Linked DNA regions of Homo sapiens: regions 2, 3, 4, 5, 6 and 7 are each linked to region 1. The links are contacts of gene promoters, found by promoter capture Hi-C in blood cells and fetal thymus (Javierre and others, 2016). All regions are on one chromosome and are shown on one strand. The core of a region is centred on a gene start or on the middle of the fragment in contact, and the rest is flanking DNA. Distances in the headings are between cores, read along the strand shown. Region 1 holds the start of MED13L (mediator complex subunit 13L). Region 2 has its middle 12 kb from the start of LINC03088. Region 3 overlaps LINC03088 (long intergenic non-protein coding RNA 3088). Region 4 has its middle 41 kb from the start of LINC03088. Region 5 overlaps SPRING1 (SREBF pathway regulator in golgi 1). Region 6 overlaps LINC03088 (long intergenic non-protein coding RNA 3088). Region 7 overlaps SPRING1 (SREBF pathway regulator in golgi 1).

The links. Contacts are between HindIII fragments. The CHiCAGO score rates a contact against its expected background, and 5 or more counts as called.
Region 2: a contact is called between a fragment that was not itself captured here and the fragment with the promoter of MED13L in region 1, in 12 of 17 cell types (monocytes, M1 macrophages, M2 macrophages and 9 more). The highest score is 11.1, in monocytes.
Region 3: a contact is called between a fragment that was not itself captured here and the fragment with the promoter of MED13L in region 1, in 10 of 17 cell types (monocytes, fetal thymus, non-activated CD4 T cells and 7 more). The highest score is 13.1, in monocytes.
Region 4: a fragment that was not itself captured here is called in contact with the fragment with the promoter of MED13L in region 1 in 17 of 17 cell types (monocytes, neutrophils, M1 macrophages and 14 more); the score reaches 30.9 in monocytes.
Region 5: a fragment that was not itself captured here is called in contact with the fragment with the promoter of MED13L in region 1 in 5 of 17 cell types (neutrophils, monocytes, naive CD4 T cells and 2 more); the score reaches 8.3 in neutrophils.
Region 6: a contact is called between a fragment that was not itself captured here and the fragment with the promoter of MED13L in region 1, in 15 of 17 cell types (megakaryocytes, monocytes, M0 macrophages and 12 more). The highest score is 22.5, in megakaryocytes.
Region 7: a contact is called between a fragment that was not itself captured here and the fragment with the promoter of MED13L in region 1, in 17 of 17 cell types (naive B cells, M1 macrophages, megakaryocytes and 14 more). The highest score is 18.4, in naive B cells.

Annotation. Positions count from the first base shown.
Region 1 is chr12:116,276,355-116,280,597 of GRCh38, forward strand. MED13L (mediator complex subunit 13L) reads right to left here and starts at 1,339. Exons shown (of 31, transcript NM_015335.5): 1 at 706-1,339. The coding sequence starts at 777. RefSeq lists silencers at 1,168-1,637, 1,688-1,747. The HindIII fragment of the contact is 4,130 bases long and covers 64-4,193 here.
Region 2 is chr12:116,647,645-116,651,731 of GRCh38, forward strand. No RefSeq gene overlaps it. Among named protein-coding and RNA genes, the nearest start is that of LINC03088, 12 kb to the right of the region's middle. The HindIII fragment of the contact is 169 bases long and covers 1,385-1,553 here.
Region 3 is chr12:116,668,197-116,672,262 of GRCh38, forward strand. The region is part of intron 1 of LINC03088 (long intergenic non-protein coding RNA 3088); the gene reads left to right. Among named protein-coding and RNA genes, the nearest start is that of LINC03088, 8.7 kb to the left of the region's middle. The HindIII fragment of the contact is 5,264 bases long and covers 1-4,066 here.
Region 4 is chr12:116,618,895-116,622,972 of GRCh38, forward strand. No RefSeq gene overlaps it. Among named protein-coding and RNA genes, the nearest start is that of LINC03088, 41 kb to the right of the region's middle. The HindIII fragment of the contact is 1,666 bases long and covers 904-2,569 here.
Region 5 is chr12:116,727,402-116,731,310 of GRCh38, forward strand. All of the region lies in intron 1 of SPRING1 (SREBF pathway regulator in golgi 1), which reads right to left. Among named protein-coding and RNA genes, the nearest start is that of SPRING1, 8.7 kb to the right of the region's middle. The HindIII fragment of the contact is 3,708 bases long and covers 1-3,442 here.
Region 6 is chr12:116,690,301-116,694,505 of GRCh38, forward strand. All of the region lies in intron 1 of LINC03088 (long intergenic non-protein coding RNA 3088), which reads left to right. Among named protein-coding and RNA genes, the nearest start is that of LINC03088, 31 kb to the left of the region's middle. The HindIII fragment of the contact is 6,709 bases long and covers 1-4,205 here.
Region 7 is chr12:116,707,680-116,711,617 of GRCh38, forward strand. It overlaps SPRING1 (SREBF pathway regulator in golgi 1), which reads right to left. Exons shown (of 5, transcript NM_024738.4): 5 at 2,492-3,938. Among named protein-coding and RNA genes, the nearest start is that of SPRING1, 28 kb to the right of the region's middle. RefSeq lists enhancers at 143-192, 1,493-1,672. The HindIII fragment of the contact is 5,313 bases long and covers 1-3,938 here.

The DNA.
Region 1 (4,243 bases), core at 89-2,588:
GATTCGTTGTTAGGATAGAGAAAAACAGTTTTTAAAAGACACAGGAGGAGAGAAAGAAGAAAAAGCTTTCTCCACCTTCCGTCGGCTCGGTGCAATGGCTTTACGGCTCTCCAGCATAGTAAGCCCCGAGAGGCAGGCGGCTGTCGATGTTTACAATCGCGGGAGCTTCGGGTGCAAGAGTCCTTTCCTGACACAATCGCATTCAATCAACTATTTTAGGGCGAAATTGCAGGTGTCATTATGGAATTTAAAAAAATTCAAAAGGCAGGCGGGCGGGCAGGCAGCTGATCCAACAACGGGGGAAGAGGTTGCCGATCGGAGGCGCGGCAGCACAAGGCAAAGCCTTCCACATTTACGGGGGGAAAAAAAGGGGGGAAAGGGGAGGAGAAGGGGAGTGCGATTGCAACAGAGGGTGGGCGTTCGAAGTGCGACCCAGAATCCGCAGCTCCGAGACTTCCACATGCAAATTCCACGCCGAGCGCCGCGCTCACAAATGATTTTTAAAGAGCCAAATAAACACTGGATGGGATCCAAGGCGAGAGAGAGACGATCCAAAAGGGGGAGAATCGGCGAGAGGCGAACGGCGGGGAGACGCGAGGGAGGGGCGAAGTCCCGGCGGCGGGAGGAGAAAGTTGGTCGGCGGCGGAGGTCGGGGACCCCCCCCCTTCCCCGGCACAGCCCCCTCCCCGCAGCCCGGCTACTCACCAGCGAAAAGAGGTTGGAGTGACAATCCTCCAGGCTCGCCCCGTTCGCCACCCAGTTCGCTGCCGCAGTCATGATCCTCCGCGAGCCCGGCCGCCAGAGCGGGGCATGTCGGAGCGAGGCGTCCGAGGCGAGGCCGGGCCGGGCGGCGGCGCCTCGCCGGGGAGCGCGGGGCGGCCGGGCCGCCGCCGCCGCCGGGGGAGGGCGCGAGGGCCGGCGGGCAGGCGGGAGGCGCCGCGGCGACGCCGCGCCGGGGGCAGCGGGCCCGGGCTGGCGGGGGGGGCGCGCGCCCCGGGCCGGCGCTGCGGGCCGGCCACCGCCTCCGCCTTCCCTGCTCCTCAGCCGCCGCCGCCGCCGCTGCTGCCGCTGCCGCCGCCTTGTTTATCTCCAGCCACCGACTCCCCCTCGGCCCCCGCCGGCGCGCGAGGGGAGGCGAGCCCCGGAGCCGCCGCCGCCGCCTCGGAGCCGCCGCCGCCGCGGAGCGCGAACTCGCGAAGGGGGGGGTGCGGACGAAGCCAGCGGGCGACCCCGGCAGCCGAGCGACGTCCCCTCCTTCCTCTTCCTCCCCCACCCCCCCCTCCTCCCCAGTCAGCCTCGCTTCTCCTCCCTCCCCGGGCTCGCTTGCTCTGACAGCAATGGCGGCCGCCGACCGCGGCTCGGCCCGCCATTGGCTGGCGCTTGGTCACGTGACGGGCGCCGGCCGCGCGGGGGGAGCGAGGGGCGGGCGGGGGAGGGGTCCGGAGTGGCGGCGGCGGCGGCGGCTCGCGGGAGGCGCTGCTGAGCTGAGCGCGGCCGGGTCCTCCGGCCGGGAAGAGGGAGGGAGGGAGGCAGAGAGGGAGAGAAAGAAGTGCGGGCGGCCGGGCTCCCCGGCGGGCGGCGGACTGCCGGCCCGTGGCTGCCGTGGGCTGCCCCTCGTGGCCGCCCCGCCCCCTCGCGGTGCACTGATCGTGGCGGGGCGGGACCGTGGGTCCCGGGCGCGCCCGTGGTGGCCGCGGAGGAGGGCGCGGGACCCCCGGCCTGTGCCCTCGCAGCCCAGGCCGGCTGGCGTGGCGCGGCGGCCGCGATGTGGGCCAGGCAGCGGGTCCGAGTGCCCTGGGGAATGTGTCCTCAGAGGCTCGCGCCGCCGTCCGCCTTTTGCAGAGGAGAAAACTAAAGCACAAAGGGATTAAATCACTTGCCCGAGGTCGCACACTTGGGAAGAGGAGTCCAGATTCGAACCCGCGCACAGTGAAGCCAAGCTCTTGGACAAGGTTTCACAGGCTTCGCCCAGGGATATTCACGGCTGCCATAGACGGAGCGCTTACTGTGTTCCAGACACTGTGCGTTTAATACAGAAATGTTTATTGAGCCCTTACTCCTAGTTACTGTGTGCACTCATTCATTCATTCATTCATTCATTACATAAATGTTTCCTGAGCTCCTGCTGTGTGCCAGAATCTGTTATAACTTCCAGGCACTGTGCTAAGGCCGTGTTGGGAGCAGACCCTTCTTCCTGGCGTCATTCATTGGATAACCAACATTTCCTGAGTGTATATGGCCTGGGAGTCCGGAGGAGTGCTGCTATGAAGAGAAGCTCTCCCAGTCCTCAAGAAATGGATCCCCGAAAAGGGGGAGGAGAAAACAATGTCTTCACTAATACGCCTCCAAACATGGAACAATCAGCTGTTTCAGGTAGATTAAGCTAAAAGAGGAAGAGTGGATGGCTGGCACAGTGGCTCACGCCGGTAATCCTAGCCGAGGTTTAAGACCAGCCTGAGCAATGTAGCAAGAACCCCCGTCATGACAAAAAAAATAAAATACAAAAATACAAAAATTAGCCAGGCGTAGTGTGGCATGTGCCTGTAGCCCTAGCTACTCGAAAGGCTGAGGTGGGAGGATAACTTGAGCCCTGGAGGCAGAGGCTGCAGTGAGCCCAGTGAGCCGAGGTCGCATCACCGTACTCCAGCCTGAGTGACAGAGAGAGGCCCTGTCTCAAAAAAAAAAAAAAAAAAAAAAAGGAAGAGTAGAAAGCAGGGAAGAGATGAGAGTGTATAATAAGAGAAGTCTTAAGACACGTGAACTGAGTTTTGGAACTACCACAAATACTGCTAAAGCAAAACTCATGAGCAACATGTTATAATGTGTATTATCATGCAACATATTGTTACAATGAATGTCGTTACCTACATTATTTCACATAATCCGCAGAACAACCACCTAAAGTAGATACTGTTATTATTCTTAGGCTGTAATTAGGTAAAACTCAGAGGTGTGCAGTGACATCTCCAATCTCTCAGTTAGTACATGGCTCAAACTCAGGTCCTTCTGACTCCAGAGCCCGAGCATGAATTCAGGAGGCTCCTTAGAAAGATGCCTCTGGCTGGCTTTGCCATCCCTCTAATTGCATTATTTTGACCAACATAGTTTAACTCTTTGAGCCTCATTTCCTAATCTCAAAAATTGATCCTGATTGCTGACCCAATGACCTCAGGCCAATATTGAGAATTTCTATTAAGATACTGTTGATGAGCGGATGCAGTCGCTCACGCTTGTAATCCGTGCACTTTGGAAGGCCAAGGCGGGCAGACCAACTGAGGTGAGGAGCTCGAGACCAGCCTGGCCAACATGATGAAACCCTGTCTCTACTAAAAATACTAAAAATACAAAAATTAGCCGGGTGTGGTGGCGTGTGCCCGTAGTCCCAGCTGCTTGGGAGGCTGAGACAAGAGAATCGTTTGAACCCAGGAAGCAGAGGTTGCAGTGAGCAGAGATTGCACCACTACACACCAGCCTGGGCGACAGAGTGAGACTCCATCAAAAAAATAAATAAATAAATAAATAAAGATACTGTTGGTAAAAGTAAAAAAAAAAAAAAAAAACCACTCTGTCAACATACACGGTGTTACTTAGGCCTGAGCAATTCGAGGGTATAATGCCCATCATATCCAGATTCCATATATTTACATCAGAGGTGAAGGTAGTTCTATCCTACTCACCTGGTGACCAAATTGTCATTCTTCAGCATGTTTAGGTTTAAGTAGAAATAGTAATAGGCCAGGTGCAGTGGCTCACACCTGTAGTCCCAGCACTTTGGGAGGCCAAGGCCAGCGGATCGCTTGAGTCCAGGAATTCAAGACCAGCCAAGGCAACATGACAAACTCCCATCTCTACAAAAGAATTAGCCAGGTGCTCACCTGTAGTCCCAGCTACCTGGGAGGCTGAGATAGGAGGATCGATTGAGCCTAGGAATTTGAGGCTACAGTGAGCCATGATCTTGCCACTGCACTTCAGCCTGTGTGACGGAGACCCTCTCTCGAAAAATCAAATACTAATGATAAATCTTTCAGAGCAAAACCTAATAGAAACATGAATAAAGGACTTGGACAGTTTACAGAATAGAGAAGACCAGCTTTTAAATGCAGTCATGTACTACATTTTGGACAACAGTGGACCACATATATGACAGTGGTCCCATAAGATTATAATACCATATTTGTACTGTACTTTTTCTAAGCTTAGATGTGTTTAGATACACAAACACCATTATATTACAACTGCCTAC
Region 2 (4,087 bases), core at 219-2,718, 370 kb after region 1:
GGGGACCGCAGGTGATGTTTATCACTTTCTTTGAAAGTGTCGGGGTAGAATTGGAGACCAATCACCTGGCTACATTTCTGCCGCTGCTTGTCAGCAACTCATGTAACCCATGGGAATGTACATCCCAATAATGTTCCCGACTCCATGTGACTTCTGTGACATTATTGTTTCTTTTGATAGAAATAAGCCCTGCAAACTTCCCAAAGGAATACGTTTTTGATTCCTCCCTTTCTCCCTGTTTATCTCTCTGCATCTTCTACTTTCTTTTCTTCTTAGAATCTTCTAGGGCAGGCAGTCCTAGTTACATACGTATCTGCTGCCTCTCTGACCCACGGAGGAAGTCCCTCCCTTCCTCTCTCCCACACCCCTTCCTCCTTCATCCTCTGCCTGGAAAAATCTTCTGACTAACACAGATGTTCAAACTTGACATCTAAGCGGGAGTTGATGGGGTGGCAGGTGTCTAAGGCTGAGGCTATTTAAGAGTCAGTCTAAAAAGTAGAGTATTAGCTCATGCCTGTAATCCCACCACTTTGGGAGGCCAAAGTAGGAGGATTCCTTGAGGTTAGGAGTTTGAGACCAGCCTGGGCAACATAGCAAGACCCTATCTCTACAAAAATATTAAAAAATTAGCCAGGCCTGGTGGTGCATGCCTGTAATCCCAGCTACTCAGGAGGCCAAGGCAGGAGAATCGCTTGAGCCCAGGAGCTCCAGGCTGCAGTGAGCTATGATTGCACCACTGCACTCCAGCCTGGGTGACAGAGACCCCAACTCTAACAACAAAACAGAAACAAAAAAAGCTGTGTTGGAGATAGGCAGAACGAGTTTTAGGAACACAGTGGGAGCCAGTAGGCCTGAATACATTTACCAACGTATCCCACTGAAGCCAGAAAGCCAGTCTTGTCCCTGACACCCCAATCCCATTCACCAAGGCCACCTTGCCTCCCAGCATATGCCCATCAACCTATTGTTGAGGTTCCTGGGCTCTCCCATTGCCTGGGCCCTGGGTCCATCCCAGCCCCTGTGTTCTGTGAACCTCTGCCCCTACATCATACTCTCTGCAAGACAGCCTGGAGATGGGTTGGAAACATGAGACATGCTGTGCTGTGGAAGTCTCCCTAGCAAAGGTGATACTTCATGACAGTCTCTAAGGACAAGCAAGAGGTAGCCAGGTGAAAGAGAGACAAAGAAAGCATTTCAAGCCAAGGACACACCTATGCAAAGACTCAGAAACTGTAAACATATTTAATCAAATTCCAGAAACTACAGGTAGTTCTGTGAGGTCAGGCCCTAAGGAGGTTTAGTGTGGGGAGGGGAAAGGGTCTTACCATTGGAGCGAGGCTGAGAAGTTAGAACATTATGCTGAGGGCTACAGAAGCTCTTCAAAAGCTTATGAGAGGGCCAGGTGCAGTGGCTCAGGCCTGTAATCCCAGCACTTTGGAAGGTGGAGGTGGGAGGATGGCTTGAGGGCAGGAGTTCGAGGTTGCAGTGAGCTATGATCACGCCATTGCACTCCACCCTGAGGACAAGGCAAGACCCCATCTCTAAAATAAATAAGCTTATGAGATATAGAAGTGTTCATAGCAGCATTATTCACAATAGCCAAAAGGTGCAAACAACCCAAACACCTATCAACAGATGAATGGTGATATGGTTTGGATTTGTGTCCCAGCCCAAATCTTATGTTGAATTGTAATCCCCAATGTTGGAAGAGGGACCTGGGGGGAGGTGATTGGATTACGGGGGCGGATTTCCCTCTTGCTGTTCTCATGATAACAAGTGAGTTCTCACTGGTTGTTCAAAAGTGTGTAACACTTCCCTCTTCTCTGTCTTCCTCCTTCTCTGGCCACGTAAGACGTGCCTGCTTCCCCTTCACCTTCCACCATGACTGTAAGTTTCCTGAGTCCTCCTCAGCCATGTTACCTCTACCTCCTGAAGAACCGTAAGCCAGTTAAGCCTCTTTTCTTTATAAATTACCCAGTTTCAGGTAGTTCTTTATAGCAATGGAAGAACAAACTGATACAAATGGATAAACAGAATGTGGTCTATCCATACAACAGAATATTATTCAGCCTTAAAAAAGAATGAAGTTCTGATGCATGCCACAATATGGATGAGCCTCAAAACATGCTAAGTGTAAGAAGTCGGGCACAAAGATCATGTATTGTATAACTCAATTTATACAAAATGCCCAGAACAGGCAAATCAATAGAGACAGAACCCAGACCGGGGGCTGCCAGGGGGTGGGGGTGGGGGAATGAGGATGACTGCTTAATAGGTAGAGTATTTTTGGAGTATGAAAATGAAAGTGTTCTGGAACTAGATAAGGTGATGGTTGTACAACATTGCAAATGTACTAAATATCACTGAATTGTATATGTTAAGATGGTTAGTTTTTTGTTATATGAATCTTGCCTCCATTTTTTAAACAGTATGAGAGGAACAGTTTCTTGGTTTAGTAAATATCTATCGCATAATTTGAGGGATCTACATCACAGAGCAGACCTCAGAACCCAAGGCAGGTTTTTCATTCAGATGCAACATTCTCCCAATTCCTTAGCTGTCAAAAGGGTTGGGGGAGCTTCAAACTCCAGCTGACAACACCATAGCTTTCAAAGTGAAACCAAAGATGAGAGCTATGGAAAGTGGACAGAGTCCAGGCCATTTCCAAACAGTAATCTCTGCCTTCCTCTTGTTCCAGCCACAAAACAGAACTCACACTTAAAAATGTCAGTCTAGGCTGGACACAGTGGCTCATGCCTATAATCCCAGCACTTCAGGAGGATCACGTGAGCCTAGGAGTTCAAGACCAGCCTGGGCAATATAGCAAGACCTGGTCTCTACGATAAAAAATAAAAACATTATCTGGGCATACTGGCGTGCACCTGTGGTCCCAGCTCTTCCGGCAGCTGAGGTGGGAGGATTGCTTTAGCACGAGAGGTAGAGGTTGCAGTCAGCCAAGATTGCACCAGCGTGGGTGACAGAGTGAGACCTCATCTCAAAAATAAAAATACAAAAAGTCATCATTTGAGCTGCCTGTGAATGCCGGTAGCTTCCCCTCTAACTGGCTGCTTCCATGGTTTGGAAGTCCCAGGAGGAAGTACATCTTGTTCGGGAGAGCTTGGGGGTAATTGCCTGAATCCTTTCCCCAGTACTTCCTTCCACATAATGTTTTTAAATTTCCTCCAGATGACTGCCACCCCTGGTGATATGGTTTGGCTGTGTCCCCACCCAAATCTCATCTTGAATTGTAGCTCCGACAATTCCCACATGTCGTGGGAGGGACCCAGTGGGAGGTAATTGAATCATAGGGGCAGGTCTTTCCGGTGCTGTTCTTGTGACAGTGAATAAGTCTCATGAGATCTGATGGTTTTATAAAGGGCAGTTCCCCTGCACAAATTCTTCTTGCCCACTGCCATGTAAGACATTCCTTGCTCTTCCACCATGATTGTGAGGCCTTCCCAGCCATGTGGAACTGTGAGTCCTTTAAACCTCTTTCTTTATAAATTACCCAGTCTCGGGTATGTCCTTATTAGCAGCATGAGAACAGACAAATACACCTGGTTTTTGGCCTTTCTTCTAAAACCACAATGTTATTTCTTCTAGCTCAAGGAGTTGTGGGGAGGGGCATGGGGGAATTGAGCAAGGGCTTTAGAAGCTATAGCGGACATTGAGGGTGAGGTTAACATGGCTGTGCAGGAAGGAGCAGTGTTTTGGTTCTTTGCACTCCCCAAGTGCTTGAGTCTTCATCATAAGCAGGGGCATGAATTTTTTCCCTTTGCATCAATGAGGCCACCCATGGATCCCAGATGTGCCGAGGCAAGAGCAGGGAAAAGCCAGGTCGCGCAATCTATTCACAGTGCCAATGGTCTCAGTGCAGAGCAGCCTTATGAGACGAGGGAAGTATTAAAAAGAAAACGAGCCTGTAATCCCAACACTTTGGGAGGCCAAGGAGGGCGGATCACTTGAGGTCAGGAGTTTGAGACCATCCTGGTCAACATGGTGAAACCCCATCTCTACTAAAAATAAAAAAAAATTAAACGGACGTGGTGGCATGCCTCTGTAATCCCAGCTACTTGGGTGGCTGAGG
Region 3 (4,066 bases), core at 1,192-3,691, 390 kb after region 1:
CTAAAAATACAAAAATTAGCCAGGAGTGGTGGCAGGAACCTGTAATCCCAGCTACTCTACTCAGGAGGCTGAGGCAGGAGAGTCACTTGAACCCGAGAGGCGGAGGTTGCAGTGAGCCCAGATTGCGCCATTGCACTCCAGCCTGGGCGACAGAGCGAGACTCCGTCTCAACAAAAAAGTGAAGGTGTAAACTGACCGTAGCCTACACTTGTGCCAGTCACCAAGTTTTAGCCAATAAATGTAGCCAACTGTTTGAACTGTGTTCGAATAAGGCAAACGCCGAGCTGTAACCAGTCCGGCTGTGTCTGTACCTCACATCCATTTTCTGTACCTCGCTTTCCTTTTTCAGTCCACCAATCATCCACCACATGGCTGCGCTGGGGTCTCTGAGCGTACCTTGGCACAGGAGGCTGCCCAATTTCTGAATTGTTCATTGCTCAATTAAACTACTTTAAATTTAATCCAGCTGAAGTTTTTATTTTATCAAGAGCAAGACAATCTTGTCTCTAAATAATAAAATGAAATCAAAAGTAAAGTGTCTATGAATAAGGTTGTATTGGCCAATGGCCATGCCCACCTGTTTACAGATTGTCTATGGCTCATTTTGTGCCTTAGTGGCAGGGTTGAGTACAGTTGTCCCTCGGTATCCGTGGGGGATTGGTTCCAGGACCTCCCAGATTACTAAAATCCACAGATGCTCAAGTCCTTGATATAAAATGGTATAGTACTTGCATATACCCCTGTATACTTTAAATTTTCCCTGTATACTTTATATCATCTCTAGATACAATACCCAATACGATGTAAATGCAGTGTAAATAGTTGTTATGCTGTATTGTTATTTAATTTGTATTATTTTAGTTATTATTTTTATTGTTTTTGATATTTTTTATCTGCAATTGGTTGAATCCTTGGATTCGGAACCTGAGGATAGAGAGGGCTGGCTGTAGTTCCAACAGAGATCGTGTGTCCCGAAAAGCTGGAAATATTTACTATCTGCTCATTCCTAGGAAAAGTGTGTCAATCCTTGCTCTAGGCCACTGAGTACAGAGAAAGCAAAGGGATCCCCCTGGCTACCAAATAAAGTTGAAAGTCTTTAACACTGCACTTAAGAAATCTACAAATAGCCTCAACCCTCATTTTCAAGGTTATGCCTTCTCACTCACCTCATACCAAAGTCAATCTCAGAAATCCATCTACCATCAGTGTGAGCAGCGGCAAATCCATACAGGCCTGCAGCAACTTGATTCTTACCTCCTCAGAGGAAAGAATTCAGCTGAGGGCATAAGGCAGAGTGAAAGTCCAAGGCAAGTTTTAGAGCAGGAGTAAAAGTTTATTAAAACATTTGAGAGCAGGAACAAAAGGAAGTACACTTGGAAGAGGAGGACCAAGTGGGTGACTTGAGAGACCCAAGTGTGTTGTCCAACCCTTGACCTGGGGTTTTATACATTGGCTTGGTTCCGGGGTCTGCATTTCTTCTTCCTAACTCTTCCTTGGGGTGGGCTGTCCATATGAGCGGGGACCTGTGCATTCAGGAGGGTCCGCATGCACAGTGTGTTTACTGAAGTTGTGTGCATGCTCATGTGAGGCGTTCTTCCCTTACCATTCGAGCAATGCTAGAAGAAGGTCATAGATCAGTTAAACCCCAGCCATTTTGCCTCTTAATGCACATGCTGGAGCTCACTCGCCCAACTGCTGAGATCTTATCCAGAAGCAGTTATCACCAGCCTCAGGTGTTTTCTATCTATTGGGAGCCTGCCTTTCTGGCACCAGCTGTGACCAATTTTTATTTTATTTATTTAGTTATTTATTTATTGAGGCAAGATTTCTCACTCTGTCACCCAGGCTGGAGTGCAGTGGTGCATGATCTCGGCTCACTACAACCTCTGCCTCCCAGGTTCAAGCGATTCTCCTGCCTCAGCCTCCTGAGTAGCTGGGATTACAGGTGCCCACCACCATGCCCCACTGATTTTTGTATTTTTAGTAGAGATGAGGTTTCACCATGTTGGCCAGGCTGGTCTCGAACTCCTGACCTCAAGTGATCCACATGTCTCCACCTCCCAAAGTGCTGGGATTACAAGTGTGAGCCACCACACCTGGCCCAATTAGTATTTTAGAGAGAGAGTTTAACAACCACCTGACTATCACCTGATGGTCACTTGACATTCCTGTGGGTCGGGGTGGGGGCCCTTTCCTGCCCTGCTCATGTCTGCCTAGCTCCCTACTCTAACGTCAGTTCTTCCCCTACAGACTGCACTTCCCTGTGCTTAAAAAAAAAAAATTATTTAGGTGGAGCCAGGCGCAGTGGCTCACGCTTCTAATCCCAGCACTTCGGGACCCGAGGCAGGCTGCAGCTCAGGACCAGCCTGGCCAACATGGCAAAACCCTGTCTCTACTAAAAATACAAAAATTAGCCAAGCGTAATGGTACATGCCTGTAATCCCAGCTACTCAGGAGGCTGAGGCAGGAGAATTGCTTGAACCCGGAAGGCAGAGGTCACAGTGAGCTGAGATTGCACCACTGCACTCCAACCCAGGTGATGGAGTGAGACGCTGTCTCAAAAAAAAAAAATTATATATATATATATATATATTTAAGTGAAATTCACATAATAAAAAATCATATTAAAGGGTAGAATTCAGTGGGTTTTAGTATATTCACAATGTTGTACAAACCCCACTTCTACATAGTTCCAAAACATTTCAATGACTCCAGAGTAAAATTTCTCAACCTATTAGGCAGTTTCTCCAGTTTCTCCCCTGGCACCCAGGCCCTGGCAACCACAAATCTACTTTTTGTCTCTATGAATTTGCCTATTCTAGACATTTCCTCTAATGCTGTCATACAGTAGGTCACCTTTTATGCCTGACTTCCTTCACTTAGTATAATGTTTTCAAAGTTCATCCATGTTGTAGTATGGGTCAGTACTTGGTTCCTTTTTATAGCCATATAATATTCCATTGTATGAATAGCCCACAATTTGTTCAGCCATTCCTCCATCAATAGACATTCAGGCTGTTTTCACCTTTTGGCTACTGTAAGTAGTGCTGCTATGAACATTTGTGTTCAAGTATCTCTTTAAATACCCCTGTTTTCAGTTATTTGGGGTATATATCTAGGGGTGGATACGCTATATCACATGATAATTTTATGTTTAACTTTTTGAGGAACTGCCCAAAATGGCACAATGGCTGCACTGTATTTTTTCCAGAATGGCTGCTCTGTATTTATATTTGCACCAGCAACACATGAGGATTCCAGTTTCTCCACATCATCGTCAACACTTGTTATTTTCCTCTTTTGTTTCCCTGGTTATAGCCATCCTCCCGGGTGCAGTGGCTTGTCGCTGCTTTTGCCGCTGTGGTTCCTTCTGCCCATGTGCTCCTCCTCATCCCTTCATCTCTCAATAGTGCCGTCTCTCCAGGCTCAACTCAGAGCATGCACGTTGGGGGTTTCTACCCCCAATCTCATATCCCAGAGCACGTGTCTCCCCATGTGTGTTCCCAACTTCCTGAGCTTGTGCTTTTTTTTTGGTGAGGGAAGACATGGTCTCACTCTATCACCCAGGCTGGAGTGCAGTGGCATGATCTCGGCTCACTGCAACCTCTGCCTCCTGGGTTCAAGCGATTCTCCTGCCTCAGCCTCCTGAGTAGCCGGGATTACTGATGCATGCCACCAACCATGCCCAGCTCACTTTTTTTGTATTTTTAGTAGAGACAGGGTTTTCACCATGTTGGCCAGGCTGGTCTCATTGAACTCCTGACCTCAAATGATCTGCCTGCCTCGCCTCCCAAAGTGCTGGGATTACAGGCATGAGCCACTGCGCCCAGCCGAGCTTGTGCTTTAGAGAGGGGGAGAGAGAGAGAGAAAGAGAAAGAGAGCGAGATTGGATGGGTGGATAGATAGATAGATAATAGATTGATAAGACTTGATAGATTGATAGATGATAGATAAGATGATTGATAGAAGATAGATACGATGGATAGATGATTGATAGATGATAGATAAGATAGATGATTGATAGATAAGATAGATTGATGAAAGATAAGATAAATAGACTGATAGA
Region 4 (4,078 bases), core at 487-2,986, 340 kb after region 1:
ATACAAAAATTAGGCAGATGTGGTGATGCATGCCTGTAATCCCAGCTACTTGGGAGGCTGAGGCAGGAGAATCACTTGAACCTAGAAGTGGAGGTTGCAGTGAGCTGAGATCATGCCACTGTACTCGAGCCTGGGTGATAGAGACAAAAAAAAAGAAAGAGAAAGAAAGAAAAGAAAAGAAAAGAAAAGAAAAAACTGAGTATGATTTTTTTAATCATTAAATTTGCAAAGAATTGGTTTGATAGAGATGTATTGGTAAAGTATGGGAAATGAAGGTGCCTAGATATTGATGGCGGGGAGGTAAATTGTTACAAACTCTATGAAGTGAAATTTACAGTTTCTCAAAAGTATAAAAGTGCATACTCTTTGAGGCAGGCTGAATCATGGTGTCCACATTCTAATCCCTGGAATGTGTGAGTGTTACCTAAGTGACAAAAAGGACCTGGCAAATGTGATTAAAGCAAGAATCTTGACATGGAAGGGTCATTCTAGGTTGGCCCAGTGGGTCTGATGTCATCACAGGGGTCCTTGTAAGAGGGAGGAGGGAGGTCAGAGAGGAAAGGTGATGTAATGACCGAGCAGAGGTACAGGGAAGTCCTTTGAAGATGAAGGCAGGGCCCACAAGCCAAGGAAGCTGAAAAAGACGAGGAAACAGATTCTTCCCTAGAGCCCGTGGGAGGAACCAGCCCTGTCCACACCTTGATTTTAGCCCAGTGAAATTTTTTTTAGACTTCTGACCTCCAGGACTGTGAGAGAATAATATGCGTTGTCTTGGGCCACTTTGTTTGTGGTCCTTGGTTAACAGCAGCCACAGGAAACAGATACCCTCTTTCTCCAAGCAATTCCACTCCTAGAACTTCATCCGACAGAGACACTGGGACAGATGCAAAATAACTACATACAAGCTTCTTCATTAAAGCAGAAATTGTAGAAGCCAAACACTGGAACCAAGCTAAATACCCAACAGGGATTGGTCAATAAAGCTGAGTACCTCCATGGAAGGGAGGGAAGGAAGAAGGGAGGGAGTAAAGGGAGGAACAAAGGAAAGGAGGAAAGGGAAGGGAAGGAAAAGAGGAAAAAACAAATATGCTTGTAATTCCAGCACTTTTGGAGGCCAAGGTGGGAGGACTGCTTGAGCCCAGGAGTTGAAGTCTGCAGTGAGCTGTGACTGTGCCACTGCCCTCCCGCCTGGGCAACAGAGAGAGACGCTGTCTCTAACTAAAAAATACGAATTAAAAAAAAGAAACAAATAGGTTTTCTAGATTTTTAGCCCAGCAGTGCAGGCTCAAAGGCCCTGGGTCCCTGGCTGCAGGTTCCCTGAAGGTGGGACAGTGAGGATGAGAGAATGTGATGCCTCTGAAGTTAGGTCATCACTGAGCTCAGTCTGGTTTTCTCCCTTTCATCCTGGGCAGGGTCCACCTAGGCGTGGCTTTCCTGTCCCTCCCAGCACTTTAGAGTGGATATCTGCAGGCTAGTTGTCCTGTTGATAAATCGGGGTGGGTTGTGACCTCATGTTGTCTATCAGGTTCAAGTCAATTCAAGACATGCTGCCTCTTTCCTGCTGCACTAAACCTAGCAAGGTGACGCCCCTCTAACACGCCTTCCCTCCGCCAACCCCACATCCAGCATTTAAATTGCAGGAAGATCACCATTGTGACAGTAGATTTCCAGCTGACACCCCCAGGGTAAGCACTAAGGAGCTCCCTAATTATCTAATCCTGAGATGCCCATGGGTGAAGCCGAGTGGAGCTCTTCTCTATCAGTAAACACGACATGCAGTTCTTTGTCTTCAGTGCAAAGCAAGGCTTTTTCCTGCCATGTGAGGAATACTCCTGCGTGATGTATTAAAATCCCTCAAAGAGAGAGAAAGAGGAAAGTAAAATAAATGTATTTCCATGACTCTAAGTACAAATCCCTGTGCGAGGCCCCGTGTGATCCTCAGAGCTGGGCTGGAGCTATTTTAAAACGAATGAAGCAAACCTACTCGATTGAAAAATCCTCTGTTACAGGATAGAGATGGGTAAGAAATCAGCGCCGGGGCTCTCGGAGTGCTTGATTATGGTTATAAACATTACTAGCTGCATCAGCAAAGCTGCTGGGAGTCCACCATAAACCTTTTGCGAGAGGAATCAGGAGGCAGGGCTGACCAGGCAAGTTCAAAACCTGAGCCCGTGTTACTCGGAGGCTTCCTAGGCTGCTAAAAATATCCAGTGATCTGCCTAAAGCAGGGGCAAGTGAGGAAAGCCTTTCTTCCCGCTGCCTCCTTGTCACCTGCAAGAAAAGGAGCCAGTTAAGGGGTGACAGGGGAGGAGGAAAATCCAACAGATACACAGAGCAGCGATTTTTGCCATGTGCATTGCTGCACAGCAGGGTGGCAGAGGTGTCTTCCTACGCTGAAGGAGCTCAGGGGAGGCCTCAGCCTGGACTTTAGACCAGAGAGAAAGTGGGTTCAAATCCCAGCTCTGCCACTGACTCATTTGCATGGTCCTCTACCCAAGACAGGGGACTTTATAAGCCTCAGTCTTCCCATCTGTAAAATGGAAATAATAATGCCAACACGTGAATTGTAAGCTTTAAAGATAACATGTGGTAAGTGCTGGGCTCAGAGCGGGTCCTTTCCCAATGGCAGCTGTTATTACTGCTGTGACAACTTAGTGGGGAGAGACAGATACATAAAAGCAATGGAGGCTGAGCATGGTGGCTTGCACCTGTAATCCCAGCACTTTGGGAGGTCGAGGTGGGTGGATCACCTGAGGTCAGGAGTTCAAGACCAGCCTGGCCAACATGGTGAAACCCTGTCTCTACTAAAAATACAAAAATTAGCTGGGCATGGTGGTGCGTGCCTGTAATCCCAGCTACTTGGGAGTCTGAAACACAAGAATCCCTTGAACCCAGGATACAGAGGTTGCAGTGAACTGAGATCACATCACTGCACTCCAGCCTGGGTCACAGAGTGAGACTCTGCCTCAAAAAAAGAAAAAAAAATGGGAAATCAAACAAGCAAGGAGGAAAACTGCACACAACCCCAGGTTGTGTATGGTTTGGACATAAGCATTGGAAAAATTCTCAGAAAGGAAAGGTTCCCGCCAAGTCCTCACCTGATCTTCAGCCCATAGAAATCTCCCCTAAGCTTCCAAAGCCAGGGAAATGCTAGATTTCCTCAAAGCCTGTCCAGATGTGCCAGTGGTTTGTTCTTCCTTTGCAGCATGGTTGCAATATTCAACCACTCAGCGTGTGTAGAACTGAATGGCATCATTCCCTCTCTGTATGCCCAGGCGACTCTCAAATGGCAGGTGTGTAATAAATGACTAGGTCAGGGCACTTGAGTAGTTAGTGAGAAATACACTGAGTAGAGAAGGCAGAGAGACTCTAATTGATGTGGCATGTGTATGTGTCAGCATTCAATCAGAGAGGCTGGGCCACCATACATATCTGTGCACTTATACATATATGTGTGTGTGTTATAGAGATTTGACCTTACATGATTGTGGGAGTCTCTGTAAAGCTGCTGTCTTTGCTCCTGATGCTGGAGCCTGAAGTCCTCAGGGCAGGCATTTGGAAAGAGAAGAGGAATGTTATTCAGACACCAACTAGTATACTGCAATTTGATTCTGACACTAGGCATTTGAAGTTAGTGTCAGATTCCACAATCTTAAGGGCGTGGTTGCCAACAAGACTGTCCTACTTCAAATACTAGCCACAGTGGGGTCCTCAGGCCACCTGCTCTTCTGACCAAATGGCTACAAAGCTTAGGGGAGGTTCCCACAACCCCCTTTATATTCACTAATTCATTAGAACAGCTCACAGAACCTAAAAAAGCACCATACTTGACAGTTTTATTGTAAGGATACAAATCAGAACCAGCCACATGAAGAGACACATAGGGCAAGGTTTGGGAGGGTCCTAAATTCAGGGCTTCCGTGCCTCTCCCCATGGATTCGGGGTACACAGCCCCTCTGGGTATATTTATGTGTTCACCAACCAGGAAGCTCCAGTTAGCTTCAGTGTGCAGAGTTTTTATTGGATTTCTTTATGTAGGCATGATTGATTGAGTCACTTGCCATGTGATTGAACTCAA
Region 5 (3,909 bases), core at 339-2,838, 450 kb after region 1:
ACAGAAACACACTGTGATTACTAATGCGTTGCTTTGTGTCTCACTTCAGAAGGGCTGTATTCATAACTGTGCTGTGTACTTTTCAGGAGTTATCACAGGTCAAGTGAGATAAATGTCCCATGTAAGCAGTAAAGCACGGAAACATAAGGCACTCTTATGAACCTCAGAAAAAGAGGGGAGGGGGAGAAAGGCCAGAGGGTACTCCAAATGTCTAGTATTTGGGAAATGGCTAAATGCAGCCTGATAATGGAAATTTTTAGTTATAAAAATCCTATTTCCAAAGAGCTTTTAAAGATAGGGAAATGCTTATATGTTAAATGAAGAAACAGTATGCCTCAACTATACAAACAAGAAGGATGAAAAATGGCAGGAAGAAAATATGCCCAAATATGAACAGTGGATGCCTCTGGTTAGTGAGATTATGGGTAACTGTTCCTCTCCTCTACCCTGTGCAATACGAGACAAACATTCTGCAATATATATATATCTCTCTCTCTTAATAATCAGTGCAAAACAAAAAAATCCCCACCAAATTAGCAAGTCTCATATTATATGATATATACTTCACTCTAGACAGTATCTAACTTGGCACCAATTTACACACTTAGCTCCTTTAAGGCTGAACACGTTCGTAGATTTTCAAGGAGTTATGCAAACAGCCCTGAGACTTTCAGGAGCTGCACCACTTGAACACGTATGAGAACATCTGGTTACACGAGAGGAACTCTAAGGACCCTTCTGACTCCCAAGATGGGAACTTGTTTAATCTCAGGTCAAATGCCTCGCATAGTTAGGCCCGCCCTGCCACTAGATCATGTCATCCTGTTTTGTTTTCTTCATAACATACATCATTATCTGAAATCATTTTGCTTATTTACTATCTCTCCTCCTTACCCGCTAGTGGAATATAGGCTCTTGGAGGGGAGAGACGTCATCTGCTTTGCCCACTCTGTCTCTGCCATCCAGCAGAACAGTGCCTGGCACACAGTTGGTGTTATTTGTTAAATAAATGCACCCAAGAAACCTGGTACCATTCACCATTCCCAACCCTCCCCTCAATGGCATCCCCACCATCATCACTGATTTCTTCTGCCTCCCATCTCTACAATTTAAGTTATCCCCCATAGCATTAATTAACATGAAAACCAAAGAAAAGAGGAATTCAAAGCAGCAGAGAGGATAATCAACTATTCTCCAGGCAAAAGCTGCCGCATCTGCGCCATGAGTTTCCAGTCTCACCGCAGCGGAGCTAAGGTGCACGGGGAGCTTCACAGTGTTCATAGCGTCTTCTCCATCAACGGTACACACCCTGGACCCGTACACTCCATCTCACCATCTCCATTTTACAGAGGAAGAACCCCAACTCCCTCAAGGCCCACAGCTAGGGAGTGGAAGACCACCCAAACTGAGGCCAGCTGAGCAGGGACGGCCAAGTCAGACGCATGCAGGAGCGCCTCTGCCAGAGCACCCAGGACAGCGGGGCTCAAAAGCCTTTGGTCCTGGAACCCTTTCTAATCTTAAAAATTACTGAGGACCTCAATATGTGGGTTTATGTGAGTTATGGCTATTGATGCTTACCATATTGAAAATTAAAACATAAATCCTTAAAATGTTTATTTTAGATCGTTTTTATTCATTTAAAAATAACAACAATGAATTCGGTACATGAGTTTTTTGTGAAAAAACACTTAAAAAAATAGTAAGGAGAGGGGCAATGTTTTTATATTTCTGCAAACCTTTTTAATGTCTCCCTCGATGGAAGACAGCTGAATCTCCGAAGCGACCTCTATATTCAATATCTGTCACAATATATTGTCTGGGTTGGAATACACCAAGAAAATCTATTCCACACAAATGTGTAATTGGAAAAGGGAGGACTACTTTAACAACTTTTGCAGAAAATTATGGATAATACTAAAGCATACTTGACACTAAATACTACACCAGAATTTGACAGCTGCAGGTTCCTAAAAGTTCACTGCACACAGTGCAGCCAGTTTGGAAAACAGTTGTGCAGTTCCTCAAAAAGTTTAACACAGATTTACCATCTGACCCAGTAATGCCACTCCTAGGAATATACCAAGAGAAATTAAAACATGTCCACATGAAAACTTGTAAATGAATGTCTGCAACAGCGTTATTCATAATAACTAAAAGGTGGAAACAACCCAAATGTCTCTCAATAAAGAATGAATAAACAAAATGTGACAGATGCACACGATGGAATATTATTCGGACATAAAAATGAAGTGCTAATACATGCTAGGACATGGATGAACTTTGAAAACATTATGCTAAATGCAAACGCCAATCAAAAAAGACCACATATTATAGAATGCCAATTATATGAAATATCTAAAATAGGCAAAACTATAGAAACAAAGTAGATTACTGATTGCTTAGGACTGAGGGGCAGGGGGAAGATGATGATGAAAATGTTTTAAAACTACTGGTTTGTGAATATACTACTTTTTTATTTTTGTTTTTATTTTTATTTATTTATTTATTTATTTTTTGAGACGGAGTCTCGCTCTGTCGCCCAGGCTGGAGTGCAGTGGCGCAAATCTCGGCTCACTGCAAGCTCCGCCTCCAAGGTTCATGCCATTCTCCTGCCTCAGCCTCCCGAGTAGCTGGAACTACAGGCACCCACCACCACGCCCGGCTAATTTTTTGTATTTTTAGTAGAGACAGGGTTTCACTGTGTTAGCCAGGATGGTCTCAATCTCCTGATCTCATGATCCACCCGCCTCGGCCTCCCAAAGTGCTGGGATTACAGGCGTGAGCCACCACGCCCAGCCTTATTTTTACTTTTTAATTTTTTTTTTGAGACAGTCTTGCTCTGTCACCCAGGCTGAAGTACGGTGGTGGATCCTGGCTCAATGCAACTTCCACCTCAGGTTCAAGTGATTCTCCTGACTCAGACTCCCGAGTAGCTGGGATTACAGGCACCTGCCACCACACCCAGCTAATTTTTGTATTTTTAGTAGAAACAGGGTTTCACCATGTTGGCCAGACTGGTCTGAAACTCCTGACCTCAGGTGATCCACCCATCTCAGCCTCCCAAAGTGCTGGGATTACAGGCTGAGCCATCATGCCCAGCCTGTGAATATACTACAAACAAGCGTTACATACTTTAAATGGGTGAACTGTATGATATGTGAATTATATCTCAATAAAACTTACCAAAAAACCCAGTTCCTTCAGCACAATGTGGCATCTGAAACCATATCAATGAATTTTTCATAAACTGTTCAGATCCATGAGTCTGTGTTGCACATTGAACAGATCTTACGCAGATCTTCTAATTGACACATTTTCATTATACAATACTAAAAAAAATCACACTTGTTAATATCACCAGGGATTTAATCTTTAGGTGTTAGAAAGTTACAAGCTAAGCGTAGCAGATACGCATTTTCCAAAATTCTAATTTTCACTTGAAAGCTTAAATATTATCATTGGCAAATAATGTCAGATGTTTTCTGTAAAGTAACAAGCTCACTTCATTTTCAAGAAAATGTCTACCAAATACCCAAATCTGAATAACTAGTGTATCAGTTGTTCTTTCAAGAAAAAATAGTGTTCCATGAAAAAAAGTGGCTACTTAAGCTTGCAGCTCAATTGCCAAAGCTCTTCCTCAAGACACCCATCATATTTCTGTAGGCAGAACGTACTGTTAGGCATATTTCCCATTTCATTCTACAGGAAAGATATGTACTTGGGGATCAAAATTTAGCAAAAGTAATAATTTTGACTGCTTTATTCTTAAGTGAAATTAGTACTTTTTAAAAAAACTACAAGTATGGCCGTGAAGAATACGACAACTAGTAGCACAGTCTGCTGCCGCTGCTTTGACCCTTGCTAAGGTACTGGCTTGACCCCCCATGACTTCTGCACCATCAGTGGAAG
Region 6 (4,205 bases), core at 1,367-3,866, 420 kb after region 1:
TGGCCAGTGGTTGGAGACTGGGGGCTTTGCAAACTTTAAACACAAGCATCGTAGTCATTAAAGCCAAAGCCCCCCACTGTGTTCCTCTCTTGGGGGTAGGGGGATCTGCAAGGGAGACAAACTAGACAAAGCAGAGAGACTGAGCCAGGGGAGGCACAGGACTGTATCACGCCCTGCAGAAAAGTGAGCTTGAAGCAGTTCAGCACTGTTTCCCCCAGGTCTGTCTTTACTGAACCGTTCTTTGGCATCGAACTTTGGCTCACCCTGAAGAAATAGACCTATGGGAGTCCTATGGTATTGGCTCAGGAGTGCTGGTGACTGTTTCCATGACAGCACAGGGTCTTCTCAATTAGGAGCCCTCAGATCAAAATGCATGGATTAGCTGTGCCTCTGCTGGTATGTTTTATGTCACAAATGGCATACATTTTGTGGCTGATCCTATTTCAGTCTTTGCTTGGGCCGTTGAGAAGTGCAATCGAAGCCGGGCACAGTGGCTCACACCTGTAATCTCAGCACTTTGGGAGGTCAAGGCAGGCTGATCACCTGAGGTCAGGAGTTTGAGACCAGCCTGGCCAACATGGTGAAACCCCATCTCTACTAAAAATACAAAAAAATTAGGTGTGGTGGCGCATGCCTGTAATCCCAGCTACTCGGGAGGCTGAGGCAGAAGAATCGCTTGAACCCGGGAGGCAGAGGTTGCAGTGAGCTGAGATCGCATCACTGCACTCCAGCCTGAGTGACAGAGTGAGACTCCATCTCAAAAAAAAAAAAAAAAAAAGTTCAGTCGCACATGCAGCCCAAACTGTGGGCCTTCATACACTCTCCCGTGTATGAGCTCTTTATGGATTCCCTGTATAAGTCTCTCCCAACTCTTCCTTTACCTGGAACATTTTTGTTTATCTTGAAATGCTCTTTGAAGAGCTGCCTCCAACAACCTTAAGAATGAGGTCATATAACATAGCAGTCAAATCCCTAAACTTTAGAGCATATTTAGCAAGGTCTGCTTCTCTGATAACCTATATTGGATTCGGGAGCTTGTTATACAGATCCCGACCGGGCGCAGTGGCTCACGCCTATAATCCCAGCATTTTGGGAGGCAGAGGTGGGAAGATCACTTGAGGCCAGGAGTCTGAGACCGGCCTGGGCAACATAGCAAGACCCAGTCTCCACAAAAATAAAAAATACAGATTCCTGGGTCCCATTCCATACCTTCTGAATCAGAATAGGTCAGACACAGCCTTTCTTTTTAACAGAATCTTCTAGGCAATTCTGGAACACGCTGACATTGGAGAACCATAGTTTTAGGGTCAGACATCCCTAAAAGCAAATCTCAGCTCTACCAGTCAATAGCAGTTTACTTCAAGCAAGGATCATCTCTTTTTTCTCAACCATAAAATGACACTGGTGAGAATTAAATTAGATGTCTGTAAGTAGATAAACATCTAACATGGCTGGCTGGCAACCTGTAAGACTCAATAAATGGTAGACAACTCGAATGTCCAAAGATGGATGATGAATCAGCAAAATGTGGTCCATATGTATATGGAATATTATTCAGCCTTAGAAAGGAAGGAGGTTTTGACACATGCTGCAACGTGGATGAATGTCCTTTGAGGACATGATACCAAGTGAAAGAAGTCAGACACAAAATGAGGGTCTCATTTAGATGAGGCCTGTCGTACGGTCAAAATCATAGAGACAGGAAGTAGAATGGTGGCTGCCAGGAGCTGGAGGGAGTGGGAGATGAGGTTACTGTTTAATGGGTGCTATAGAATTTCAGTTTGGGGGCTGGGCATGGTAGCTCAAGCCTTTAATCCCAGCACTTTGGGAGGCCGAAGCTGGTGGATCACTTGAGGCCAGGAGTTCAAGACCAGCCTGGCCAATATAGTGAAACTCTGTCTCTACTAAAAATAACAAAAATTAGCTGGGTGTGGTGTGCATGCCTGTAATCTCAGCTACTTGGGAGGCTGAGACAGGAGAATCGCTTGAACCCAGGAGGCAAAGGTTGCAGTGAGCCGAGATTGCACCACTGCACTCCAGCCTGGGTGACAGAGTGAGACTCTGACACACACACGCACGCACACACACACACAAAGAATTTCAGTTTGGGGTGGTGCAAAAGTTCTGGAGATAGATGGTGGTGATGGCTGCACAACAGTGTCTATGCACACGATGTCACTCAACTGCACACCACTTTTAGGTGTACACATTAGCTGACATAATCTTTTTGGGCATTGAAAATGGCAAATCTTGCCAGGTGCAGTGGCTCACACCTGTAATCCCAGCACTTTGGGAGGCCAAGGCATGAGGATTGCTTGAGCTCAGGAGTTTGAGAGCAGCCTGGGCAACAGAGGGGGAACCCATGTCTTAAAAAAGAATATATAAAAATACAAAAATTAGCTGGGCATGGTGTTGCATGCCTGTAGTCCCAGCTACTCTGGAGGCTGAGGTGAGGATCACTCGAGCCTTGAAGTTGAGGCTGCAGTGAGCTGAGATTGCAACACTGCACTCTAGCCTGGGTGACAGAGTGAAACCCTGTCAAAAATGAAAGAAAGAACGAAAGAAAGAGAAAGAAGGAAGGAAAATTGCAAATCTTGTGTGTATTTTACCACAATCAAAAAATAAAATAAATGATAGTTACCACCACCGACAAACAAAAGTTATTTTTCAACTCCCAATTCCCCACCTTGCCCTTCCAGATCTTCTACAATCGATCTAGCAACAAAGCATCCAGTTGAGGTGCAGGAGGAAGGGGAATGGAGGAGAAATGGGAAAGAAATAATAGTCTCTAGCCCTCTCATTGTTTTTTCTTAACCCAGGAGTCCAAAAAGTCCCCAAGAAGCCACGGACCGCTTATCCCAACTGTGAAGGAAGCTGATGCGACATCAAATATTAAAAGGGTAGAGGAACCAGCATAGTTTTCCATATAAATGAAGCTACTTACATATATGAAGATTGCTTTTAAAATTCAAATATAATTATTTTTTAAAAGGCATCCCGCGAGCTCTGTCTCTCTCCCAGCACTGACACTTCTGGGCTGTTGTCATGTGCCAGTGAGGTGCCTGTTGGCAGACAGCCCAAAGCACTTTGTAACATGCCCTCCAGATCCTAAGTGAAAACTGATCAAAGAATTGGCACCAGCAAAGACAAGACTGAAATCAGCTCTAAAAGGGGTGGGGTTGGACTATTGTCCCTCTTTGTGGGAACAGCTGCTTAACGGGGCATTGGAGCGGCGTGATTATAATATGCATACGGACTGCTCTGTTAACAGAAGCCGGCTTAAAGTACTCCAGGGGCCTCCACCTTGTGTTTTGGCAAAGGGATCTTCGAGGATGCTGTGTCAAACCTTTTTGAAAATGTCTCCTTGACACGGAGGGTGAGGAACGGCGTCTGCGAATCTCATTACACAGGGTCCCACGCCTCCCTCTGCTGTTCTCCGGCTCCCGTTTCTTGGCTGCCGCCAGTGGGAGTCGCACGGGGGTCACCTGCCCCCACTTTTAATCAGGACGGGGAAAAATGCACCAAAGGAGTGCCGCGGGTTACCTGAGCAGACCCGGGAGCCCGTCTCCTGAGTCCTGGGGGAGGATCATTTATTTGTCTGCAGATCGGCAAGCGGGCAGGTTTGCAGAGTCCCTGGGGGCTAGTAGTTCTTATAAAGGAGAATGCACCACCAAGCAATTAGTTTCATTGTATTGTGCATGGGATGGCATCGCCCGCTCTGGAACGGAAGAGGAGAGGGGACATCCCGGCACTGGGAGTGGGGAGGGCTGAGAGGGACCCCATGGACACAGCTGACGCCCAGTTCCATAGGCCAGGGGAGGGAAGCGAACCGTGCAAGTGCTGGAGTCGTGGGGCTGGGATCTCCCACATCTGAATCTGACACGTTCATCCCAGGGCACTGGAACTTAAGATGTGAGTTAGCATCCCCCTTCATCGGAGGTGGAAACTGGAGATCAGCAAGGTTAGGACAATTTCACCAAAGTGTCCTAGTTAGTAAGTGGCAGGGCTAGGACCACACTGCCCCCCTCCCCGCAACACCCTCATCTGTCCCACTCCAGGGCCTATGTGTTTTGCTAGTTGGTTTTGTTTTTACTTGCACCCCACCTAAAGGAAACGGATATGTTTCTTTTTCTGGGGGGGTAGTTGGCTGCTCCCCAGGCCCTGCCGAGTCCCTGTTCGGGATGGTTTCCCCGTCTCCGTCCTCA
Region 7 (3,938 bases), core at 378-2,877, 430 kb after region 1:
AGTGGGTGGTGTAAAATCTCCCACTGATTAAACAGCACTGGTTTCAAGCAACACCTTCCAGGTCCTAGAAGCCACCAACTACAATTCTAGAATACCAGGGCTGGAAGGACCCCATGCATTATCCTGTTGACATCCTTTCATAGACAGGCCAATGGGCCCAGAAATAAGAGACTGAGGCACAGCCCCTGCCCACAGGAAACAACAAAGGGTGATCAAAACGTGCCAAGGCAACGCGCTGCCCCGGCCCTGCTTGCACGCAGATTGGAGTTGCAGGTGGCTCCTCCATGTCATGGTGTAAACTTGTGCTAAAATTAACCTGAGCGTCTGAGACTTCCTCTATAAAATGACAAAAAAGAACACCTGGCTGGGCGCGGTGATTCATGCCCTGTAATCCCAGCACTTTGGGAGGCCAAGGTGGGCAGATCACCTGAGGTCAGGACTTCAAGACCAGCCGGCCAACATGATGAAACCCCATCTCTACTAAAAATACAAAAATTAGCCAGGCATAGTGGCATGCACCTGTAGTCCCAGCTACTTGGGAGGCTGAAACAGGAGAATCGCTTGAACCCGGGAGGCAGAGGTTGCAGTGAGCAGAGATCGCGCCACCGCACTCCAGCCTGGGTGACAGGACTCCATTCCAAGAGAAAAAAGAAAAGGAATGCCTGGCTGGGTGCAGTGGCTCACGCCTATAATAATCCCACCGTTTTGGGAGGCTGAGGCAGGCAGATCACTTGAGCCCAGGAGTTCAAGACCAGCCTGAGCAATATATCGAGATCCCCATCTCTACTAAACATTTTTAAAAAATAACTGGGTGTAATGATGTGTGCCTGCAGTCCCAGCTACTCAGGAGGCTGAGGTGGGAGGATCACTTGAGCCTGGGAGGTTGAGGCTACAGTGAACCAAGATCGCGCCACTGCACTCCAGCCTGGGTAACAGAGTGAGACCCTGTCTTGCTCTCTCTCTCTCTCTCTCTCTCTCTCACACACACACACAAAAGAAGAATGCTGGTCTCTGAAGATGGGGATGGGACGCTGCACGTGCAGAGTGGCACATGGCAAGTGCTTCATAAATGTTTTTCTTTGTCTGAGTATGAATGGTTAAGAGGCCTATCCCACTTTTCGTGTTGGCGGAGGGTGCAGGAGGAAGAAGGGGGTAGCTGTGAGTATTTATTTAAGCCTTGGGTCTTCTCTGCACCAGCAGCATGCCCAGTTCCCTCTTCTGCAAGGGCTACTTTCCTGAGTCCCTGTTCACAAAATCGCCCGGACCCAGGAAAGAGTCCTGATCTGTCATCCCCACCAGATGGTTCTCATCTATAGAAACAGCTTCATTGTTTTCAGGAGAGAGAGCTCCACGCAGGCACGGGGCCCATAATCTCTAGACAACGATCACATTGAGGACAGAAAACCTATGGCATTGGTGCCACCAAGTGGCACAGAAAGCAATTGTCGGTGTCTGTGCCACCCGCGCTGCCTTGCTCTCCACTTTCCATCTCTCCATCTTCTCCTCCTTCCCTTGAAATCGCACCGCAAGTGTCATTTGACTACACTGCCATCCTTCGAGGTCTGAAAGGGCTGCAGTGAGAAGAAAGGGCTTTACGATCACATGTGACTCGGCTCTGTAGTTCCTCCCCGTGCTAAATCAGGTCAATGAGCTGATTTGTGTCAAATAAATTAGCCCAGCCGGCTGCTAAGCTGCTCCAAGCCTATCTGTCTTGGGCTTCCAGGTTGGCATTTAGCAGGCTGCAGGCACAGCCCAGGCAGGTATGGATGCCACGGACGGAGCTCGAGGAGCACGCCCTGAAGTGCTGCCCAGATGCAAACCTCCCGGGAGAAACTGAGTCCAGCACGTGCCTAGGGAAGAGAGCACAGTGGATTCCAGCTCCCGACATCCTGCTGCAGATGCCACGGAGCATTTAGGAACATCTTTAGAAACTGAAGTCCTTTATACCCTCGAAAACCACCATGTAGACCAGCAGCTTGACAGGGCGGAGCTGGCTGGTGCTGGGGGAAATGTGGACTGCCTTGAGCTCAAATAATCTTACAACACCAGGTAGCCAGTAAGACGGTCCACAGATCCTCCCCTAGCCTTTTTATATTTTACATTTCTGCATTTAGCAATTCACTAAAATAAATGACAGGCTCAGGAGATCTGGAGTGCAGTTTTCCCGATCTCTGCTCTCTCAGGAAAGTCGAGTCACGCCGAGAGACACCCTGCCGTGACAGGTTTCTTCAGCATCCCTAATGCAGGTCAACTCCGGCCGCGACAAATGCCTATAATTTATTTGTGCAGAACAAAAAGACTTCCTTCCCCACTGCATAAAATCAGACAAGGAAAAAGCAGGCAAAGCTAAACTCCTGTGCAATTATGAAAGGGTTTTAACCTCTAACTGGGCTTCAATCTTCCAGGCAGGATGATAGAAGTGGAAAGTGCGCTTGCCTGCTCTGCAAATGAATTCGCTATCATTGGATTAAATCAATCTAACAGGAGCTAATTATTTTAAAATAATATGGACAGCAGGGTCCTACCTTTATTTACATACAAATACAAAATCCACGTTTATATACAAAATACAGGCAAAACGCTCCAGCGGAACTTTAATTAGTGGTTATCTCTAGGGGCTGGGAATCTAATTTGGCACAATTTAATTTCTTTGTAAGTTCATACATTTTAAGGTTTCTGCCTGGTAATCACAAAAGCAGAGAAAGGAAAACCTTTTACTGAGCTGAGCAATGCCTGTAGAAGCCCTGCTTAGTAGGAGTTCCAAGATGCTCTGTGTATCTCAGGTGAAGCACACCTAAATAATTGAGCACTGCATTAAGGCTCAGAAACGTAGTACCGTTGTGTGCTTCTCTGCCAAAAGGCAGCTATTTTTATGACAGAAAACACAGCAGCTGTTTTCACAGGTGCAGGGCAGCAGTACATGGGAAGTTGGTCCCAGCAGAGAAGGATATGGTGTCTCTTTAAAACTGGAGGAGGAAGAGGCAGAAAATGGTGAGCCCCAGTTGAAATCTGCAAGAGAGAAGGAGGAAGCCCTGGTTTGGAGAAAAACGGGCTCCAGATGGCTGGGCTACATTTGTCCTGTGAAAATCAAAAGCCTGGGACCCAGCCGCTGGGATACGAGGGCTCTGGTCTTGCTTTAACAGCCAGGGGGACTTTTGGCTTGTTACAAAAATTGGAATTTGGATCTGCAAGATACGCTAGCCATCACCCTTAATTGACAAATGAGGAAACCAAAGCCGGAGAGGGTAATTTACTCAAGGTCATTAAGGTCAGTGCTCTTGTCAATAAAATTAGGATATTGCTCACATACTTCATACTGCTTTTGTTACACACACACACACACACACACGCACACACAGAGCCAATGTATGGAAACATCCCTGAGAATATATAATGTCATCACATTTACTATTCAAATTAGCATCAACTGGTCAAATATTTATTCAGGTAGTAACTTACTCAACATTTCTATCTTGACATCCCCCAGTACAACTTAATACAATGCCCCAATCCCCACAGGACAGGACAACACTCTCTCTCGCTCTCTCTCTTCCTTAAGAATAGTGAGATGTGGCCAGGCGCGGTGGCTCACTCCTGTAATCCCAGCACTTTGGGAGGCCGAGGTGGGCGGATCACGAGGTCAGGAGATCGAGACCATCCTGGCTACTAACACGGTGAAACCCCGTCTCTACTAAAAATACAAAAATTAGCTGGGCACGGTGGCGGGCGCCTGTAGTCCCAGCTACTCGGGAGGCTGAGGCAGGAGAATGGCGTGAACCCAGGAGGCAGAGCTTGCAGCGAGCCCAGATCGTGCCACTGCACTCCAGCCTGGGCGATGGAACGAGAATCCGTTTCAAAAAAAAAAGAATAGTGAGATGTGACCAACATAGCCTGGAATCTTAAATTACTGATAATGGTGATTTCTCATTTAGACAACA